Regions from separate parts of the Homo sapiens genome. Here regions 2 and 3 are each linked to region 1. Evidence: promoter capture Hi-C in 16 types of primary human blood cells and fetal thymus (Javierre and others, 2016). All regions are on one chromosome and are shown on one strand. Each heading gives the region's core, a stretch centred on a gene start or on the middle of the fragment in contact. The rest is flanking DNA. Distances are from core to core; before and after follow the strand shown.

The links. Contacts are between HindIII fragments. The CHiCAGO score rates a contact against its expected background, and 5 or more counts as called.
Region 2: a contact is called between a fragment that was not itself captured here and the fragment with the promoter of DYM in region 1, in 1 of 17 cell types (naive CD8 T cells). The highest score is 6.2, in naive CD8 T cells.
Region 3: a fragment that was not itself captured here is called in contact with the fragment with the promoter of DYM in region 1 in 1 of 17 cell types (neutrophils); the score reaches 6.4 in neutrophils.

What each region holds. Positions count from the first base shown.
Region 1 is chr18:49,459,173-49,462,278 of GRCh38, forward strand. It overlaps DYM (dymeclin), which reads right to left and starts at 1,473. Exons shown (of 18, transcript NM_001353214.3): 1 at 1,226-1,473. RefSeq lists a silencer at 872-1,451. The HindIII fragment of the contact is 8,649 bases long and covers 1-3,106 here.
Region 2 is chr18:48,835,611-48,838,716 of GRCh38, forward strand. The region is part of intron 10 of CTIF (cap binding complex dependent translation initiation factor); the gene reads left to right. All of the region lies in intron 2 of CTIF-AS1 (CTIF antisense RNA 1), which reads right to left. Among named protein-coding and RNA genes, the nearest start is that of CTIF-AS1, 4.7 kb to the right of the region's middle. RefSeq lists enhancers at 190-1,090, 1,091-1,990, 2,261-3,039, 3,040-3,106. The HindIII fragment of the contact is 7,442 bases long and covers 1-3,106 here.
Region 3 is chr18:48,919,451-48,922,556 of GRCh38, forward strand. It overlaps SMAD7 (SMAD family member 7), which reads right to left. Exons shown (of 4, transcript NM_005904.4): 4 at 403-2,460. The coding sequence ends at 1,922. Among named protein-coding and RNA genes, the nearest start is that of SMAD7, 30 kb to the right of the region's middle. The HindIII fragment of the contact is 3,093 bases long and covers 134-3,106 here.

The DNA.
Region 1 (3,106 bases), core at 223-2,722:
CCATTTAATCCACTTGCGACTGATAGTTTCATCAATTATTCCAACTCATTTTGCCCTATGTACTCAGTTTATGAGCTTAAGGCAGACACCTAACCTCTAAAAGACTAGTTCTTCATTTACAGAATGGGAATATTCATACTTGTCCGGTCTATCTCCAAGTTGCTGAGAGGATTATCTAAAATAAAACTTCAAAGCAGGATAATCACTCCAGAAATCCATATATTCATAAATTTCATCCTCTGCAACAACCATTCACCCATTCCTATAGATTCTCTTCCCTTCCACCTCGTTCTTCTCTTGAGCCCTCAACTCATCAGCCTAAGCACCTGAGTTCCTCTGGTGGACGCTACATTCCTCTCCACGGCCTCCACCCTCCAGGTTTTCATCCTTCAGCACATCACCCTTGCTCTACACACCCCTCTCTCCAACTTCCCCTCTCCTCTTTCAAGGAACTCACTCCATCTGTGCCCCCTAATCAGTCTATCCTGGGTACCCGCTTTGCTGGCCGATTACAATCATCCCATCACTTCTCTACCCCTGTTCAGTAGAGAACAGCTTTATCCAATCAGCTTTACCACACCAATACCCTCAAACCCCACTACTGCCCCCAGTTCACAAACACCCACCCTTTCACTTTTCAGTCAAAACACAATTGCTCAGGCAAATCCACGGCGACTGAAAGTAGATCAATAGTGTAGGGGAGAGAAGGAGGAGTGACTGCTAATGGGTACGAGCTTCTTTGGGGCGGGGGGGGCGGTGATTAAAAATGCTCTGGAGTTAAGGGTGGTGATGGCTGCTCAACCCTGTGAATATACTAAAAACCACTGAGTTGTACTTTTAAAGGGTTAATTTTCTGATATGTTAGTTATACCTCGATAAACTATGAATGTAAAAAGAAGAAAGAAAAACCCAACAGCTATTGCTCACCCTGCCCATCACACGCCCATTTGTCAGACCAACACCGCCCCATCTCCGGAAGCACCGACTTGGCCTTCGGTATCCCCCAACTCCCAACAGCGGACTCGGACAGAGGTCCGTCCGCTGTCAGCACAGCCCCTCCGGGTGGCCCAGGCGCCCGCGGGCAGGGAAGGGAGGGTCCCTTCGCCGCCGCCCCGGGGCGCTGGCCGGGTTGCGGAGGGTGGCCCCTGACCCCCTCTGACAGGAGGCCGGGGACAGCCAGGCTTTCGGGCCCGGCCGCGCTGAGGGGGGCGGCGCTACAGCCCACCTGTCTCAGCCGGCTGGGGGATCTGCTCCAGCTCCACGGACCCGCGGACGGATGGGAGGGTGGCAGAGGGGTCAGGAGAAGTCGCTGTCGCCGCCGCAGCCCAGGTGGCGCACACCGGCTCAGGCCTCCATGTTTCCACGTCTCAGCGGGTACAGATCCGGCTCCGGTCCGGCCTGCAGCTCGGCCCCGGCTCGGCTCCAGCCCGGGCCGCGTCGGTGCGGAGGCCAGGAGGCGGCGAGAGAAGAGGGAAGCGACCGAGAACGCGGCTAGGGACCAGACCCCCAGGCGCGCGCGCCAGCCAGGTGGTCACGTGGCACGCGGCGCGCGCGGGCTTCTGGAAACTGTAGTCCTTTGGGTGTTATTCGTGCCTCCGCCCTCCTAGTACCTCCTGGGCTACCGCAAAGCCACGTGGCGAAATCGAGAAGCGCAAAAACAGCCGTGCGCGGTGGCTCACGCCTGTAATCCCAGCACTTTAGGAGGCCGAGGTGGACGGATCACGAGGTCAGGAGATCGAGACCATCCTGGCCAGCATGGTGAAACCCCGTCTCCACTAAAAATACAAAAAGTAGCTGTTTGAGACAGGATAATCGTTTGAACCCGAGAGGCGGAGATTGCAGTGAGTCAAAAAGTAGCTGTCTGAGGCAGGAGAATCGTTTGAACCCGAGAGGCGGAGATTGCAGTGAGTCGAGATCGGGCCACTGCACTCCAGCCTTGCGACAGAGCTCGACTCTTCTCAAAAAAAAAAAAAGAGAGAGAGAGAGAAGCGCAAAAACCTCACCTGCCGGGTGCTAGAGTCAACCTCACCTGCCAGGTGCTAGAGTCCTCGCTCATGCTACACCGCTCGTTCTGGCGGCTTAACCTTATTAAGGCCTCTGTTAATTGCAGCTGAATAACCATCCCAAAGTCAAGCAATATTGTGTGGGATTCTGGAGAATTGAGAAATAGCAAAATAATTTTTGATGGAGGCAGCTGGCAGGGCTAGCCCTGCCTGCAAAGTTGTCGGAAAGGACAGGTCCCACGGGAAAGAGTAGCAATATGAGATAGTGCCAAAACTATGGAATTTGAAGTCAAATGAGCTGAGGTTTCCACACTGACGTCTTTGAGCAATTACTTCACCTCTCTCAGCCAGTTTCCTCACCTAAAATATATGCATGATGATGATTCTGCCATTACAGGAAATGTTGACATGACTGTAGTAATAACAATTCACATTATGGATTATTTTCTATTTGCCATGCACTATTATTTCGCAAAATGACCCTATGGAACAGATAGCACCGTTATTCCCATTATATAGTCAATATGTGCCAGTGTACTCTGTAAAGTACTATACAAATATTAGGTATTCTTTTCTAGCATAGACTGCCAGTAAATTCACTGAGCTTGCAGAATTATGACAGGAAAACATATTAAAACCCAAAGTAGACTGGGCCCTGTGGCTTATGCCTGTAATCCCAATACTTTGGGAGGCTAAGGTGGGAGGATCACTTGAGCCCAGGAGTTCGGAAGGACCAGCCTGAGCAACATAGCGATACACTGTCTCAACAAAAAATACAAAAATTAGCTGGGAGTGGTTGGCACACCCTCGGTCCCGGCTACTCGGGAGGCTGATGTGGGAAAATCGCTTGAGCCCGGGAGGTTGAGGCTTCAGGGAGCCATAATCTCACCATTGCACTCTACCCTGGGCAACAGAACGAGACACTGTCTCAAAAAAAAAAAAAAACCCCAAACTACCTAACTAAAAAGCCATAGACACTACTATGCAGTCATTGTAAAGAATGCTATGGATGCATATTTATTTGAAAACATTTTCATGATACACTGAGTGGAAACATATATAGTATCAAATTTTCATAAGTGAATTATATTAGGTTGGTGCAA
Region 2 (3,106 bases), core at 607-3,106, 620 kb before region 1:
GAGCCCCAGACTTTCAAGGCATATTCCTGGATTTGAGAATCAGCTCCCTGACCCCCATGAGTGGCCTTGGGCACACTGGAGATCATCTGATCTCCCCCCTCTGGCGTGGTCCATAAAGCAGTGATGGGACTATGTGAGGATCAAGTAGGACATGTCAGGCCAGGTGTGGAGAGGGGACTGTGTGGGAGCTGTCGGTCATGGTCCCTTCCCACCAAGCCCCCCACCTGCCCTCACCCCTGACTTGGCTGCCCCCTACTCAACCTTTGGGTTTCCTCTGCAGAGAAGCCTGCCCTGATCACCTCATCCATCCAAAGGGGGCTCCCTCCCAGCTCCCTGTTTGCATTTGTCATTCTACCCCTCTGCCCCCCACTGTAGGTGGCCTGGGGACAGGCACCGGGCTGTTTGGTCCCCATGGCCCCAGGCCCTCTAGCCCATGAACATTTGCTGCAGGAAGGCACAAATGCATACCCCCGCCCTAGGAGCCACTGCCTTGGAGCCCACCCACCTCCAGGCCCCACCTCCCTCCTCCCCCAGCAGCTGCTTCTCTAAAGAGGCAGCTCCCACTGTGCTCTGGAGCATTCAAGATCCCAGCAACAAAGTCAGAGTTAAAAAGTATATTCTGTGCTTCTCCTGGAGCTGACGTGGTCCCATCAGGTGCCCCCTCTTGAGCACAGCCAGCAGCCCCCAGAGAGGCCCTGGGCTGCCCTTCAGGGTCCCCATGCTCAGCCTGGTCTTTTTCAAGGCCTGATTCTAAGGGCTGTGTGGGCCCTGCTTGCTCTGCCTGGAGGACAGTGGGGTCACCACTGGCATCTAGGGGACCCCTCCACCACCCTGCTGCCCCCTAAGATGCGTATGGGGCAGGCCCTCCAGCTTCTCACACCTCAACTCCAAAGGCCTGGGCGATTATGAGGCACCAGTGAGTGAGATCCCCAACCAACCCCATCACTTCAGCCCTCCAGGTCCCAACATCCCACCAGGTCCCCCTGGACTGCCAGCACCTGCCATTCCCCTAGAGGGGCAAGGAAGCAGGGTGGGAAGCCCCAGGAGACTGCCGTTGGTCATGCCCAGGTAAGGATTAGCCAGGCCTTCCTCCTCCACTCCTCTCCTCTTTGCCTGGTGCAGGAACAACCAGCTAGGAGTCAGGAAATCTGAGTTCTGGTGCTGGCTCTGCTGCCACCCAAGCTGTGCCTCTGGTTTCCTCCTGGGCACCGCACATAGATGCCATCTGTGAGTGTGTCCCCTGCTTAGTCCACATCACCTGCCATCAGCCTGCTGAGAGGGCGCCGGGGCCCAGTGGGACACCCTGGGAAATTGTCAGCTACTAGTCCTGCATCCCTGCCCACATTTGGGCTGTTTGTCCCTTCCCATCGCATAAGGAGCGGGGAAGGGCAGGAAACTGAGGCAGCCAGGGTTTGACAGCAAAGCCTGCACTGCCTGGCCTGGGGGCAAAGGAGTGAGGTCCAGAGGTTACGAGCTGCCAAGGACTGGGGACCTCATCTTTCTCCTCCTGGCTCCCATCCAATGCCCAGGGGCTGGGGGGTCTCCTTTCCCGGGGCCTCCCATACACACATTGGTAAAGGGAGGAACAACAGCCTCATGGTCTCGGATCCAAATCCTCATCCCTGTGCTCACGAGAGCCCCTCCCTAGAGCAAGGGAGCACTGGTGCCTGCCTCACAGGGTGGGGGCGAGAAGGGGGCTGTCTAAGGCCCATCAAGCATTTAGCAGGGGCCTGGCACACATCCCCACTCAGAGGACACCGAGACCACTGTTCATGTCACATCCGGGGTTCAAATTCTCAGTGCTGCAGGAACTCAGAGGAGGAGGAGTGGCCTGGGAGCTGGGGAGGGCTGAGGTCTGGGCTGGGGGAAGCACCTGAAGGCAGGGGTGGAAGCTATGGGCCTAGGGGCACCTGAGCCTGGGTGAGCCCAGCCCAAACTGAACAAAGGCGATTAGAGCTAAGAAGAGGGTCTCAGTCATTTATGGAGCCTCTGCCACTCCCATCCACCTGAAGAGACATTTTTCTCAGTGGTGCCCACTCTGACTGCACCAGAAACACCCAGAGATCTTACTATACAGATTCCTAGGCCCCCACAGCCCTACATAGCCCTAAAATCAAAGAGTGAGGGCTGGATCTGTTTCTCTCCTAGGTGGATCCAGTACAAACACAGGGCTGGGAACTACCCACTGGATGCATCCCTCTCCCTGCTCCCAGATGCCCTGAGCCCCTGCCCCCCACCAACCTGTCCCAGCAGCCCTGGGCAACTGGGTGACTGCGAGGCTAAGAATCCCCCACACCCACACCCTCCCTGGTGGGAAGGGAGTGGGGCTGTCTCTGGAACTCTGATTTGGTTTTGCTGTCCAATGCCAGAACGGGGGCACACTGAGGAAGAGAGACTTTTAAAAACAAAGTCCGTCTTCCCTGGGGTTTTATTTTACCTTGGAAAATAGAAGAACTGATTTTTTTTTTTCTACTTTCCCCCAAACTTGCTCCCTATCAGTGTCCCTAAAGTAGGAAGAGTTCTCACTTCTCCAAGTGTGTAGTCTTGGCATTAATTAAAATCCAGAAATGACAGCAACAAAGCACCTGCTTTTTCTTCCTGCTTTTCTCCCAACACCCCGGCACATCAACAGCCCGTCAGCTTGTGGGTAGACTCACATAGGAGCTGGAGCCTACACTGAACTTTCATCCCAGGCGAAATGCCTATCAGAAGGCAGGTGCGCTGCCTTCCCAAGCCAGTGCCCTCCTAGAGTTGAGCGTGCTGGGCTGCCCACGCCTCACGTGAGCCTCTCGGTGCAGTGGCCGCCTGGAAGATGTCTCACCTGGGTCCTTGCACAGGCAGATACTGGAGAAAATCTGAGGAAATATATAGATTGATTTTTGTCCGCCCCCCTGAAACGAGTCCCCTTTATAGTCACACTTCATAGAAAGCACAACACAGACAGCATGTCTGTGCTTGAGGCTGTGGCTGTGCACACTTGGGTGGGCTCAAAGTATATGCATTACTGCACAACCTTTGTCTCCCTCGGGGCCAACACAGAGTTTAGTGTAGGAGCCTTCACTTAGGCACTGTGTTCACCTTTACAGCCTTCTCCAACACTTCATTT
Region 3 (3,106 bases), core at 430-2,929, 540 kb before region 1:
TTAATACCAAGTGAGGAGTTGGCAAGAACCAGATGGACCCAGGTTCTTGGGGCTAAACTTCTCCATCCATCCATCCTCTAATCCTGTCTCCTTCCCATTACCCTAGATGTAATTCCCTGTCCTCAATTCTACAAGCTTTGAATTATCACCCACAGAGCTCCTGTAGGTTGTCTCCCATTACAAATTCAAGACACAAGAAGGAGGGATGTCTGGGTGGCTGCAGGTCTTTCCAGCACTCTTGAAGACCAGGGCTGTTCTAGATGTCTCTTTTGTGGCCCACGTCTCCCATCCTCCAAGCACTGGGCTGGGAAGACGCCAACTCAACTGAATTTGGATGAATACTCACTCCTCCCCACTCCCTCCAAGCAGCAGAAGAAAAAGGAGTTGGAGGACAACATGAAATCAAGTGTACATTTTAAAAATCGTTTAATGGAACATAAACTCCTTTAGAAAAACATTCAGCTAGGTGATAACACCCATAGAAAAAAACACCAATCTTGTGTTTATCTTTTTTAATTTGGCATTTGTTATTTGCATTTATATTAAAGCAAAGTGCATCTTTTCTTTATTTTTCTTGTTTATACACATTGCACAATACATAAATAATGATGCTTATAAAACGTCTTTATATTTACAAGTAATAATATATTTATATATAACATAAAATACATTTTTTTCTTTAATAAATCTCAGGTTTTTTTTCAGGAGTCCTTTCTCTCTCAAAGCACTACAATGCTAAATTTCCAATGAGAATGCTTCTCTTGTTCATTTAAACCTTTGTAGTTAGAAAAATAGCTTATGTTAAAGTCTAAACATGCTCATTGAGCTAAGAACAGTGTCGAAGTATCATACGAGTGTATGAGTTGTAGAAGAAATGAAAGAAGAGTTAGGTGTCAGCCTAGGATGGTACCTTGGGTTATGACGGACCAAATCCTTCTTGGAGGGAAGGGGACTGCTAAGCATGTCCCTCCCAGGGACATCCCCGCTTGCTGGCCTAATAGCAGAGCTTAACACACAGGATGGGAGCAGGCAGTGCTGAGCTGGTTTTCTAAGTCCGGGAAAAACCTGATGTCACCAGGGCAGGCAGGGGAGAGGCTGAGGGGAGAGGGCACTGGGTGAGCAATACTGTGAGGGGGCTGCCCCGGCAGCCCTTGGGAAGCCCATCTCAGGGAGATCCAGGAGCAGATGGCCAAAAAAGAAAGACGCTACAATGGCAGGGGCTGGCAGGAAGGGAATAAGACAAGGATGAAAATAATTGGTTCTGGTTCGGCCACTAGCAGGCTCGCTGCTCAGAAGCCTGTGGACAGGCCCGTGTCCTTGATGAGGGAGAGGAGGGGCAGGGGCTTTCCCAGGCTGGGGACAGAGCCGTGCTCCTGGCAGCTGCTGGGACCCCAGCCGCCAGCTTGCCCAGGTACTGCCTCTGCCCCACTGAGCGTGTCCAAGGGGCAGGAGAGACACCGCTTGGGACTGCAAACCTCTCTGCTGGGGACATCCATAAGAGACACAAAACAAAGAGCACGTTGTCTCCCCATCTGCCGCTCCTGCACACGCGTGCACACACAGCCGCACACTCACACTCACACACACTCCTGACAAGTGAAATGATGACCGCCCCCCTTCATACACTGTGTTTGGTGGTGCTTGGATTTCTGCTTCCCCTCTTCCTATCAGGGTGTCCTGCCGATCATACCTGCCCCTTCTTCCAAAAAAACCCCCAACAATTCTTTTCATAAGCTATTTCTCAAAGAGCGAAACAAAACAGAACACAAACGAGGACGAGAAGAAGAAAACCAACCAACAAACAAAAAAAAAACGACCAAAGAGTTTGCATGAAAAGCAAGCACTCAGGAGGAAAATATTAGCAGCAAAGTAGTTTGAAGTGTGGCCTGCTCAGCTCACGCTCTGTCCCCTCCGCACGCGGCTACCGGCTGTTGAAGATGACCTCTAGCCAGCACGGGCAGCTGCTGATGAACTGGCGGGTGTAGCACTGGCCCCAGCCCTTCACAAAGCTGATCTGCACGGTAAAGCCCGTCCACGGCTGCTGCATAAACTCGTGGTCATTGGGCCGCTGCAGGCTGTACGCCTTCTCGTAGTCGAAAGCCTTGATGGAGAAACCGGGGAACACCTTGTGTACCAACAGCGTCCTGGAGTCCGGGTTGTCCAGTGTGGCGGACTTGATGAAGATGGGGTAACTGCTGCGGTTGTACACCCACACACCATCCACCTCCCGCGTCAGCTGGATGCCGCAGCCGATTTTGCTCCGCACCTTCTGCACCAGCTGACTCTTGTTGTCCGAATTGAGCTGTCCGAGGCAAAAGCCATTCCCCTGAGGTAGATCATAGAAGATATCCAGAGAGGGCTCCTGGACACAGTAGAGCCTCCCCACTCTCGTCTTCTCCTCCCAGTATGCCACCACGCACCAGTGTGACCGATCCCCAGGCTCCAGAAGAAGTTGGGAATCTAGAAAACACATTGGCAGAGAGGGTTAGTGGGGACAGGCATTGGTGACTCCTAGAATGAAGACACCCGCCCCCCCACTGCACCCAGTCACCAGCTCATCTCTCAGGACGAGACAGAAAGAAGGAGGCGGTGAGGCTAGTCCTGGACTTGCCCAGGCTCTTACAGCCCTTTGACCAGGACCCTGCCTTTCTTTAAGCATAGGAAGCGCTGGGTGCTGCTTCTCTCCAGGCCCCTGCCCATCAGGAGTCCAGTACACCAGCATCTGTGCCCACCTGGCCAACAAAGCCTCTTCTCTGCAGAGCACAGATGCAAAGGGACCCTTAATAGCTTGGGTAGTCTGCTTTTAGGGCCTCAAAAAGCCTCAGCAACGTCCTGGAGTTACAGATCTTTCAACTGGATGGAACCTTGAAGGCCAGCTCCTCCAGCCCCTTGTCATCCTGATGAGAAAACCAGGACCCAGAAAGCCTGCTGCTGGAGTACCAGGGGATGACACAGCCAGAGCTAGAACCCAGGTGTCTAGACTCTGGGACCACCTATGCGATGGTCTCTGGGTGCCTGTCACCCAGCTCTCAAATCAGTGCCGTGGTCATGAGGAACCTATCTGGTAAAAATAAAAATGAGGGTGGCTTGGGACAAAAACATCTAT